Linked DNA regions of Homo sapiens: all the other regions are linked to region 1. Evidence: promoter capture Hi-C in human tissues and cell types (Jung and others, 2019). All regions are on one chromosome and are shown on one strand. The core of a region is centred on a gene start or on the middle of the fragment in contact, and the rest is flanking DNA. Distances in the headings are between cores, read along the strand shown. Region 1 holds the start of TTLL11 (tubulin tyrosine ligase like 11). Region 2 overlaps RC3H2 (ring finger and CCCH-type domains 2). Region 3 overlaps RABGAP1 (RAB GTPase activating protein 1).

Region 1 (3,940 bases), core at 1,040-3,539:
TCCCAGGTCCACCCAGATGTGCTGCATCACAGTCTCTGGGGGTGGGGTCCAGGAGCCTGCATTTTAAATAAACACCCCGGGTTGTTCCCATGCAAGTGGCCAGACGACCATGCTTACAGAAACTCTGAAACAAAGTCATGAAGGGAACAGATGCGAGCGCCCTCTGCTGCTAAAAAGGAGGTTTGGATCTCTTAAGTTTATGACTTGGACATTTCAAGGCAGTTTATTCAGCAAGTGAAACCCCTGGACTAAAGCAAAGAAACAAGACACCTGGAGAGATGAGAGAGGAAGAGGGGCCACGTTCCTTGACAACTTCTGTGTTTCTTTCACCCTGTAGTGTCGAGCGAGGCAAAGTTCCCCTGTGTGCAGTCGTGGCCGCTGTGGTCAGTCTGGGGTGCTGTTACACCTTCTCAACCCCACTTCCTAAAAAAACAAATGCGGCTCCCTCAGGTGGGAGGGGAGAGCTTTCTCCTTGGTTTGGCTTTAAAATGATGGCAACTCCCAAAAATGGAAAGCAGGGGCTCAAACAGGTATTTGTATACCAATGTTAACCGACATTCTTCACAATAGCCAAAAGGTGGAAACAACCTAAGTCCATTGACAGATGAATGGATAAAAACGAGGTGGTGTATGCACACGACGAAATATTTTTCAGTCTTAAAAATGAGTGAAATTTGGACTCATGCTACAACATGGAGAAACCTTGAGGACATTATGCTACGTGAAATAAGCCAGACAAATACTGTATGATTCCACTGACATGAGGAACCAGGAATAGTCAAATTCATAGTCAGAAAGTAGAAATGGTGGTTCCCAGGGACTAGGAGAGAAGGGAATCCCGACTTATTGTTTCATAGACACAAAGTTTCAGTTTGGTAAGATAAAAGAGTTCCGGAGACCCATAGTGGTGCTGGTTGCACAACAATGTGAGTATACAGAATGCCACTGAATTGTACACTAAAAATGGTTAAAATGGCAAATTTTGTTATATTTTACCACAACAAAAAAAGTGATATAAGTAAAAGCAGTCAGGCTGGACGTGGTGGCTCACGCTTGTAATCTCAGCACTTTGGGAGGCTGAGGCGGGTGGATCATCTGAGGTCGGGAGTTAGAGACCAGCCTGGCCAAGATGGTGAAACCCCGTCTATACTAAAAATACAAAAAATTAGCCGGGCATGGTGGCCGGCTCCTGCAATCCCAGCTACTCACAAGGCTGAGGCAGGAGAATTGCTTGAAGCCGGGAGGCGGAGGCTGCAATGAGCCGAGATCACACCATTGCATCCCAGCCTGGGCGACAAGAGCGAAACTCTGTAACAACATCAACAACAACAACAAAACAAAAACAAAAACAAAAAAGAAAACAAGAGACGCGGTGGTTCTGCTTGTAATCCTAGTACTTTGGGAGGCCGAGGCTGGCAGATTACCTGAGGTCAGGAGTTTGAGAACAGCCTCGGCAACATGGCGAAACCACGTTTCTACGAGAAACACAAAACTTAGCCGGGAGTGGTGGTACATTCGTGTAGTCTCAGCTACTCGGGAGGTTGGGGTGGGAGGATCCCTTGAGCTCTGGAAGTTGAGGCTGCTGCAGTGAGCCGGGATCGCGCCACTGCACTCCAGCCTGGGCGACAGAGAGAGACCCTGTCTAAAAAAAAAAAAAAAAAAGAAAAAAAGAAAAGAAAAAGAAAAAATCGTTAATATCCTCAACTCGAGTGGGAATCTATAGGGGGCTTACCCATGCCCATGACTTCCCCATCCCATCGGGAGCTCCCTGAGAACAGGGAAAAGTGCCTCCCCTCTTATCTGGGGGCGCTCAAAGGACCAGCAGAGGGTTTCTTCAGCGGAACACTCTCTGCTCCCCTAGGGCCTGGGCTGCTCACATCCATCGCACTGAGGAGGGTCCCATCCATTGCACTGAGGAGGGTCCCATCCATTGCACTGAGGAGGGTCCCACTGGGGGGCTCCTCCTCCGTCCTATCGAGAGTTATCCCAGCGAGTGTTGGCGGGGACTGAGCCTCCTGCTTGAGGTAGTTGTTTTTACTCCCAGTCCCCAGGCTCACGAGCCCCACGCGCGCTCAATCTGCCCTCCCGCTTCTCCTCGCCACTCCGAGTTCTGCGCCCTCGAGATCCAGCGCATCCGCGGGGTGGGCGGGTCCTGGCGGCTCTTTGCCCTCTTCCAACATGGCCGCCGCTGCCTCTGTGACAGGCAGGGTCACGTGGGCAGCCTCGCCTATGAGGTCGCTGGGGCTCGGCCGGCGATTGTCCCTTCCCGGACCCCGTCTCGATGCGGTGACTGCCGCTGTCAACCCGAGCCTGAGCGATCATGGCAACGGGCTCGGGCGGGGAACGCGTGGCAGCGGCTGCAGCGGCGGCAGTTTGGTGGCGGACTGGGGCGGCGGAGCGGCGGCGGCGGCGGCGGTGGCACTGGCACTGGCCCCGGCCCTGAGCACCATGCGGCGGGGCAGCTCCGAGAGCGAGCTGGCGGCCCGGTGGGAGGCGGAGGCGGTGGCTGCGGCCAAAGCGGCGGCCAAAGCTGAGGCCGAGGCCACAGCGGAGACGGTGGCGGAACAGGTCCGCGTGGACGCGGGCGCGGCCGGGGAACCGGAGTGCAAGGCAGGGGAGGAGCAGCCCAAGGTCCTGGCCCCGGCCCCGGCGCAGCCCAGTGCGGCTGAGGAGGGGAACACCCAGGTCCTTCAGCGGCCGCCGCCCACGCTGCCCCCGTCCAAGCCGAAGCCGGTGCAGGGCCTCTGCCCGCACGGGAAGCCCCGGGACAAGGGCCGAAGCTGCAAGCGGAGCTCGGGCCACGGTTCCGGCGAGAACGGCTCCCAGCGGCCGGTCACCGTGGACAGCTCCAAGGCCAGGACCTCCCTGGATGCCCTGAAGATCAGCATCCGCCAGCTCAAGTGGAAGGAGGTGAGGCCCGGCCCGACCCGGCCGCGTGGGCACAGTGGGGTGGACAGGACGACCTCAGAGGTCTCGGCACGGCCCAGGTCAGGTCGGCGGGCGAGGGCTGAGCTCCTGCGGTGCACCACGCTCGGGCCTGCTTGTCAGCCGCAAAGTGCTCATCCTTCAAGGCCTACCCCCCAAAATCACTTCCTCCAAGAGGGCCCCCCAGACCCCTCCAGGTCAAGTTAGCCACTCACTCCTCTGCCTCCCTGCAGCTCTTTTTATGTCTCAGCCATCAGCATTTGCCTCTGCTTGTAGATATGTGTACGTCTGTCTCCTCCACCAGCTTGTAAGCCCCTGGGGCCCCGGACCCGCTCTCTCACTTCTTCATTGAAGTTATATTTGTTTAGCACTTGCTGTGTGACTCTTGGGCAGAGGAACACTTTTTATTTTGGAGGCAGACAGGCCTAGGGTCTCACTACACTTTGCTACTTAGCTGTGTGACCTTGAGTAAGTTGCTTCACCTCTTCAGCCTATTACCTTCTCTGTAAAGTGAGGCCAATTATACTTATCTCATCATCTTGTTAGCATTAGAAGACTCACTACTTAGTGTTTTATAGCACAAGTCTGCAATAAATGGTAACTTACGTTACCACCTTCTCCTTTCTCTCTTCTTCCACCATCATCACCATCACCACCACCAGCACCACCACTGTCCTCATGATCAGTGGTATAAAATCAGGCACTGTATTTTATATTCCAGGCTTGGCTTACGGCATGTGTCAGTAAGCAGTGAATGAAAGGGTGAATGAATACATGAGTTATCATCCCTGAGCCCATTTTAGACTGGCAGGGGATGGAATGTAGCACCAGTGACTCTAGAGGTGTCTGTTGCAATTGGCTACGTGGATAAAGCCATTTGACTTTATTTGCAGCATATAAGGTATTTAATGTGCTTTCAGGAGTGTCAGGAGTTTGATTAAGGATAGCTGAGTGTGGACACAGCCAGTGGTAACAGGGATCTGCTGCGGGTAACAGAGGACTCAGGTTCTTAGCC
Region 2 (3,952 bases), core at 1,091-3,590, 800 kb before region 1:
TTATACTCACCAAGATTATTATCAAGTACATAAATAATAGTTGCATGAGCTGGATGAATGTATTTCTGCAATATTCCTTTTTTTTTTTTTTTAAGGTACCAGATCATCAGTCAATTAAGTTAAGTAATCTAGGTGAGAATAAACACTATGAGGTTGCAAAGAAATGCGTTGAGGATTTGGCACTCTACTTAAAACCACTAAGTGGAGGTAAAGGTAAGTTCATAAAATGCATTTTTACTGATAAGTAGGACTTGGTAGTACATTTACTTTGAATGACTTGATGTGGATACCCTATTAAGTTATGGAAAAGGAGTTTGCTTGAGAAATGCCTTGAAAAATGTATAGACTGAGAAAATTATGTTGTCCTATTTTCTGAAAATAACCAATATTGTTATTAAGAATTCAAGCTAGAGCCGGGCGCGGTGGCTCACCCCTGTAATCCCAGCACTTTGGGAGGCCAGCGCGGGCGGATCACAAGATCAGAAGATCGAGACTATCCTGGCTAACACGGTGAAACCCCGTCTCTACTAAAAATACAAAAAATTAGCCGGGCGTCTTGGCAGGCACCTGTAGTTCCAGCTATTCCGGAGGCTGAGGCAGGAGAATGGCGTGAACCCGGGAGGCAGAGCTTGCAGTGAGCCGAGATGGTGCCACTGCACTCCAGCCTGGGGCGACAGAGCAAGACTGTCTCAAAAAAAAAAGAATTCAAGCTGGGTGTGGTGGCTTCATGCCTGTAATCTGAGCACTTTATAAGGCTAAGGTGGGTAGATTTCTTGAGCCCAGGAGTTTGAGACCAGCCTGGGCAACAAGGCGAAAGCCCATCTCTACTAAAAATACAAAAAATTAGCTGGGCATGGTGACACACGCCTGTAGTCCCAGCTACTGAGGAGACCGGTGTAGGAGAATCACATGAGCCCAGGAAGTTGAGGCTGCAGTGAGCTGTGATCGTGCCACTGCACTCAACCTGGGCAATGGGAGTGAGACCTTGTCTCAAAAAAAAAAAAAAAATTTACCAGAGTCACTGCATCTTGAAATTTGTACATTATTTGAATTCACTGTGTAATAGTGCTGTAACAGAATATTAGTTTTGATAAGTCCTATTAAGACAGCTTCATGTATGCATGTATTCATTCAGTCATTCATTAAATTTTATTGAGCACTTAACAGTGATTAAGGTCACTGCCATCATGGAGCCCACAGTTTACTGGGGGAGATAGATGTACAAGTGTAATAAATTATTTTAAGTCTATGACAAAACTGAAATTTTATCACTGCATACTTAGCACATCATAGGTATAATAAACAATTGTTGAATGATTGAATATATTGAGTATTTTGTACCTGTTGAATGCTTTGCACTGTTGTGTATGTGGCCATAGTGATTTTACTGAGAAACTTATCCCCTGTATTCATTCATTCATTTATTGAACAGCTATCTAAAGAGCGTGGACTGAGAGTGTCAGGCATTCTTCTAGTGCTGGGATACATTAGTAAGCCAAATAATGTGTTTTAAAGGAGTAATGAGTAATCATGTGTGTTGAATGCTGTTGGAAGGTCAGATAAAATAAGGAACTAAGAATTAACTAATTTAACCAATTTAGCAAGTTTGGTCAAGTGATGTGGGAAAAATTTGATTGGGGTGGGTTTCAGAGATTGTGAAACAAGGAATTGGAAGTAGTGAACAGATCAATTGTAGTGATCTACAATTGGCTAAGTAGTTAAGGCACTAGACTAGGAAATAGCGAGTATAGACAACTCTAGAAAATTTGCTGCATAAGAGAAGAAAGAAATGGAACAGAGGCTGGGCACAGAGGCTCACGCCTGTAATTCCAGCACTTTGAGAGGCCGAGGCGGGCAGATCATTTGGGGTCAGGAATTTGAGACCACCCTGGCCAACATGGTAAAACCCCATCTCTACTAAAAATACAAAAAAAATTAGCCAGGTGTGGTGACACTCACCTGTAATCCCAGCTACTCGGGAGGCTGAGGCAGGAGAATTGCTTGAATCTGGGAGGCAGAGGTTGCAGTGAGCTGAGATTGTGCCACTGCACTCCAGCCTGGGCGACAGAGTGAGACTCTGTCTCCAAAAAAAAAAAAAAAAAAAAAAAATGGGGCAGATTTGGTAGGGGAAGCAGGATCAATGAAAATATTTGTATTTTAGATGGATGAAATAACAGCATACTTGTTCTTATTCTGTAATGATGGAAATGTTCAAGTAAAGAGGGAAAATTTGATAATGTGGGAGAGGGGAGAATTGCTGGAGCAATATTCTTACATAGGTACATAGGAGTAGAATCTAAGAGCTTACCATTAAGCAGTATTCTAAATGTCTTATATACAATTAAAAAATAGAGTCATTTTTACTTTTAGGTTAAACTGCTAAAGTAGCTAAAAATTAGGCTTCTTATTACTATAGAATAATAACAAACAGAGACAGAATACTGTTAGAAAAATGAAAGCACATTACAAGGGACTCATTAGGAATTGTGGCTTAATCGTTAAATGCAGATAATGAAAATTGACTTTTATTTTTTATTGAAAAAACTTTAGCTCCCTTTGTTTCCCTTTTCCTAAAGGTGTAGCTAGCTTGAACCAGAGTGCACTGAGCCGTCCAATGCAAAGGAAACTGGTGACACTTGTAAACTGTCAACTGGTGGAGGAAGAAGGTCGTGTAAGAGCCATGCGAGCAGCTCGTTCCCTTGGAGAAAGAACTGTAACAGAACTGATATTACAGCACCAGAACCCTCAGCAGTTGTCTGCCAATCTATGGGCCGCTGTCAGGGCTCGAGGATGCCAGTTTTTAGGGCCAGGTAAGATAGGTTACTATCTTACCTTTTTTATTAGCTATTGGGGCTTGAGGATGCCAATTTCTGGAGCTCGGTGAATCCTGAGACTCAACCCGTCTTTATATGTACAAATCTTGATATAATTAAAGATAAATTTGTTTTTGTTGTTGTTGTTATTGCTGTTTTGTTTTGTTTGAGACAGGGTCTCACTCTGTCACCCAGGCTGGAGTGCAGTGGCGCAGTCTTGGCTCACTGCAGCCTCGACATCCATGCTCAAGCAATTCTCCTGACTCAGCCCCCTAAGTAGCTGGGACTACAGGCACACGCCATCATACCCGGCTAATTTTTCTATTTTTTGTACAGACAGGGTTCCACCATGTTGGCCAGACTGGTCTGGAACTCCTGACCTCAGGTGATCTGCCTGCCCCAGCCTCCCAAAGTTCTAGGATTACAGGCGTGAGCCACTGCACCCAGCCAATATAAATCCGTTTTTATTAATCTTAATTTATATGATAGACAGTGCTTTTGTGTTTTAAAACAAAATTTCTCATTTAAGCTTCAATTGCCATCAAGATAGGCAATATAGCTACAGTTTTACAAATTAGAAAACCAAGTTAGAGGCCTAAGATTGAACACGTAATAAGCCAAAGAAAGGTAAGCTTTTTTTTTGGTCTGAAAAAAAATGTTTAAACTCTTGATCGTTTTTAGGGGATAATTATTTATGATTAGTGTTATCTATGTTCTGTCTTAAAAAATCTTCACCTATACCAAGGTAATGAAGTTCCCTCCTGTGTTTTCTTCTTGAAGGTTTATTGTTTGAACTTTGTGATTTAGAACTACAGTTCGGGTAGAATTTATTTTTGGAAAGGAAACTTTTAATAAGTGATGTTGGGACAACTAGATCAAAATGCGGAAAAAGCAAAATTAGATGCATTTCTTATTCTCTATAAACTATATAAATTACAAACGTCAGAAATCCTTATTAAAAATAAAAATATACTGGTAATAAAAACCAATAAAAGAATATATTTCTTTATAACCTGTGAGTAGGGAACATTTTTCTAACTTTAACTCAAAATCTAGAAACAATAAGGGAAGAAACTGATATTTGACTATATAATTTTGTGTTTAATTTACATCACAAAAAAATTATAAGCAAATGAAAA
Region 3 (3,523 bases), core at 800-3,299, 890 kb before region 1:
TTAATGAGACAATATGCCATACCCTAAAAGAAATGCCCATGAAAACCAGAAATCCCACACTAGAACTCTGTCAGAAACACCAAGATTTTTAGGTACAGGTTGAGCATCCTAAATTCAAAAATCTGAAACATGAAATGCTTCAAATTTCAAAACCTTTTGAGTACCTACATGACACTTAAAAGAAGTACTATTTGGGGCATTTCAGTTTTTGAATTATTGGATTTGGGGTGCTCAGCAGGTAATTATATGCATATTCCAAAATCCAAAAACATCTGAAATCTGAAACACTTCTGGTCCCAAGCATTTCAGACAAAGGATACTCAAAATATAGTGCTATTAGAGTCGGTCTCAATCAGACTCAGATTTGATTCACCTTTCTGCCTCTTCTAATTTGTTTTGACTTTGTAATTTACATTTAGGTCGAATATACATTTAGTATTTCTTCACTCTGAAACTCCTATCTCTGACTGTCATCTTTTTTTTTTTTTTTTTTTTTGAGACGGAGTCTCGCTCTGTCGCCAGGCTGAAGTGCAGTGGAACAATCTCGGCTCACTGCAACCTCCACCTCCTGGTTTCAAGCAATTCCCGCTGCCTCAGCCTCCCAAGTAGCTGTGACTACAGGTGCGTGCCACCACGCCTGGCTAATTTTTTGTATTTTAATAGAGACAGGGTTTCACCATGTTGGCCAGATGGTCTCGATCTCCTGACCTTGTGATCCACCTGCCTCGGCCTCCCAATGTGCTGGGATCACAGGCGTGAGCCACTGCGCCCGGCCTAACTGTCATCTTTCTGAGCTGCACTGTTACAATTATTTCTCTAATTCATCATCTTAGCCACTTCATTATGTTCTCTTAATCCCTTTGGCTTTCCTTTCCCAATAACATCTATAGTTTTAGCACCTGCTTTTCCAAATGAGTCTTTTAAGTTGTCCTTCTCCTCCCATGCTATGTCTTTCTGTCCCATGTTCTAGTCTTCCTTTTTCAACTTGGCAACTGCTCCCATAGAGCTATATAGGTCTGGAGCAAACATCTGTTCACCCAGAATTATCCCTCCATTTCTCTAATATTGTACTCATATTCCTTCTTTATTTGAAAAATCTTTAAGCATTCCTGGGGGGAAAAAAAAAAAGACTCCCTCTGTGTCCTTTAGCCATGTTTTCTCTTTCCTTGGTACAAGTGAAATACATTTAAAAGGAAATCAGAATGGTATATATATTTTTACTCCTCTCACATCCCCTTAGATTTAGAATTCAGAGATTCTAGAGAATGTTTTTGCCTGTTTTTGTAGACAATGGTTTTGCCTGTTCTAAATAAAACCTAGTACAGGGTGGACACTCACATATTAAAAACAATAACCTTCAGTTACGCAAGCAATGCAGCAATCCTAACCTCCTTGTCCAGGTTTCACTGGTAGGCTCATCTCTGGTTTTTGGAGCCCTACTAATGGCACAGGGTTAATGGTGGATGAAGCGGAGAGCTGATTAGAAAGAGGCCCATCTCCTTCACCATCCAGTTGTGACCTTTTCACAAGCTCCTTTTCCCCTGGCTGGTCGTCCATTGGAGGATCCATCAGTACATCTGCTAGCTCTTTTTGCAGCTGCTGTTCACTTCCATTCCCTACAATCTAAGGGTCACAAATACATGCAATCAGCAAAGTGACAAAGATTGGCCAGTATTGATTAAAATGGGTTCACATTCTAAAGAAAATCATTAGCATTTCTTTTGATACAAAGATATCTTCTGAATGTTTTTTTTAAAAATAGAATAAATCAAGATCTGCAACAAATAAGGGTGCAGCTGCTCTCTCAATTACATAGTTTTTCATGAAAAAGTACATAGTGAACTTGAGACTAATACCCAGAAATATATGCGATAGCCTGCCAATGTTATTAAAGTCTTTTACTGTGTCCTAAACTAACAATAATTAAAGGATCTATAATTTTGTCTGATAAGAAATAACGCTTTTAAGAAGAACATCTTAGTGTCTCCTCTAGCCCTTAAGAAAAAGGGAAAAATGTGCTTGCTTCCAAAAGGTATCAACAGAAACATACATATTAGGCAATACATTTCCACAGGTATTTTACCACTCCAGTCATATGCAAGTCTCTTGTATTTCTGAGGAAGAGTTACATGATATGAACAGGTTCTGAAAGTTCTGAAACACTTGAGTAAAGCTGACATGAATGTACAAAATAGTCCTGAGAAATAAAAGCACTCTATTTCAATAATATCAAGTAATTCTATGGAGTCATGATGGGTTATTACTAGTTCCTCAACAAGGAAGCAAGTAAGTGCAAAATCCAGTGGAGACTGCCCAATGCCAAGGAAAACCACAAGTGACATAATGCAGTATTGTCACTAAATGCTTAAGAAATACTAAAAAAATTAACAAAAGAATTGAGTTAGAAAAACGAAGTCATGGGAAAAAAGAGGGAGCCCTGATTTAGGAGGCTTTCTGAAGACTAAAACCTAACAAAAAGTTAAATTGGGCAGGGCTAAGAGAATGAGGCCTACCCTAGCAAAATTAACACAGATGCTAGGAAGCAATATTCCAATAACAGAGGTAGGTACCTCTGGGGTACCAAGAAATCCAATTCAAGTACTTTTATTGATTCAGGCTTTTATAATTCTATAAACTTCAAGTCTCTTGTGCTGCAAATTATAATTGAGAAAAAGACAAGTCTTTTTTGCGGACATTTTCCCAAGGAAATTCCAACACTTCAACTACTTTTGCCTTAGAAATAAAGACCTCTTTCTTGGCTTCAATGACAATTTCTGTTTCTGTGAATTTCATTTTATGTTTGGAGTTACTGCTAATGGAATTACAAGTGGGCCGAGTAATTTTAACCCTTTGTTAAATCAGATTCTACACATACACAAGTGCAACTGAATTTCTTTTTTTAGAAGTTCTGCTTTAAAAAGTTTTTGTTTTTTTTTTTTTTGCTGGGCGCAGTGGCTCACGCCTATAATCCCAGCACTTTGGGAGGCTGAGGTGGACAGACTGCTTGACCTCAGGAGTTCGAGACCAGCCTGGGCAACACAGTGAAACCCCATCTCTACCAAAAACACAAAAATTAGCCGTGCATGGTAGCATGTGCCTGTGGTCCCAGCTACTGGGAGGCTGAGGTGGGAGGATCGCTGGAGCCCAGAAGTTGAGGCTGCAGTGACCCGAGATCACGCCACTGCACTCCAGCCTGGGTGATAGAGCAAAACCCTGTCTCAAAAACTTTTTTTTAAAAGTGACATCATATCACTATGTTGCCCAGCGTGGACTTGAACTCCTGGGCTCAAGTGATCCTCCCTCATCAGCCTCCCCAGGAACTGTGACTACAGGCAGTGCCACCACGCCCAGCTTAAAAAATTTTTAAAGCACCTAAAAATCCAACTAAAGCTTAGATTCAATTAGCCTCTTATCTTTTCAAAACTGGAGAAGAAATACTGTATCACCTGCAGTAAGCAAAAGACAGCCCAAGTGAACCTAAACTAATTTTTCCAAGGGTAGGGAGAAATAACATATAGGAATA

The links. The method cuts DNA at HindIII sites, captures the fragments that hold promoters and counts their contacts. A contact is called where the count stands out against the background at its distance.
Region 2: a contact is called between a fragment that was not itself captured here and the fragment with the promoter of TTLL11 in region 1, in 1 of the 25 tissues and cell types used here (bladder).
Region 3: a fragment that was not itself captured here is called in contact with the fragment with the promoter of TTLL11 in region 1 in 1 of the 25 tissues and cell types used here (bladder).

What each region holds. Positions count from the first base shown.
Region 1 is chr9:122,091,657-122,095,596 of GRCh38, reverse strand. TTLL11 (tubulin tyrosine ligase like 11) reads left to right here and starts at 2,289. Exons shown (of 9, transcript NM_001139442.2): 1 at 2,289-2,910. The coding sequence starts at 2,449. LOC124902263 (a long non-coding RNA gene) reads right to left here and starts at 1,465. Exons shown (of 2, transcript XR_007061757.1): 1 at 1,425-1,465; 2 at 197-423. RefSeq lists enhancers at 2,109-2,298, 2,048-2,761 and a silencer at 2,649-2,698. The HindIII fragment of the contact is 16,076 bases long and covers 1-3,940 here.
Region 2 is chr9:122,889,170-122,893,121 of GRCh38, reverse strand. RC3H2 (ring finger and CCCH-type domains 2) reads left to right here. Exons shown (of 21, transcript NM_001100588.3): 3 at 96-213; 4 at 2,577-2,810. Among named protein-coding and RNA genes, the nearest start is that of SNORD90, 11 kb to the right of the region's middle. The HindIII fragment of the contact is 4,424 bases long and covers 129-3,952 here.
Region 3 is chr9:122,982,585-122,986,107 of GRCh38, reverse strand. It overlaps RABGAP1 (RAB GTPase activating protein 1), which reads right to left. Exons shown (of 26, transcript NM_012197.4): 3 at 1,389-1,623. Among named protein-coding and RNA genes, the nearest start is that of RABGAP1, 43 kb to the right of the region's middle. The HindIII fragment of the contact is 4,839 bases long and covers 1-3,523 here.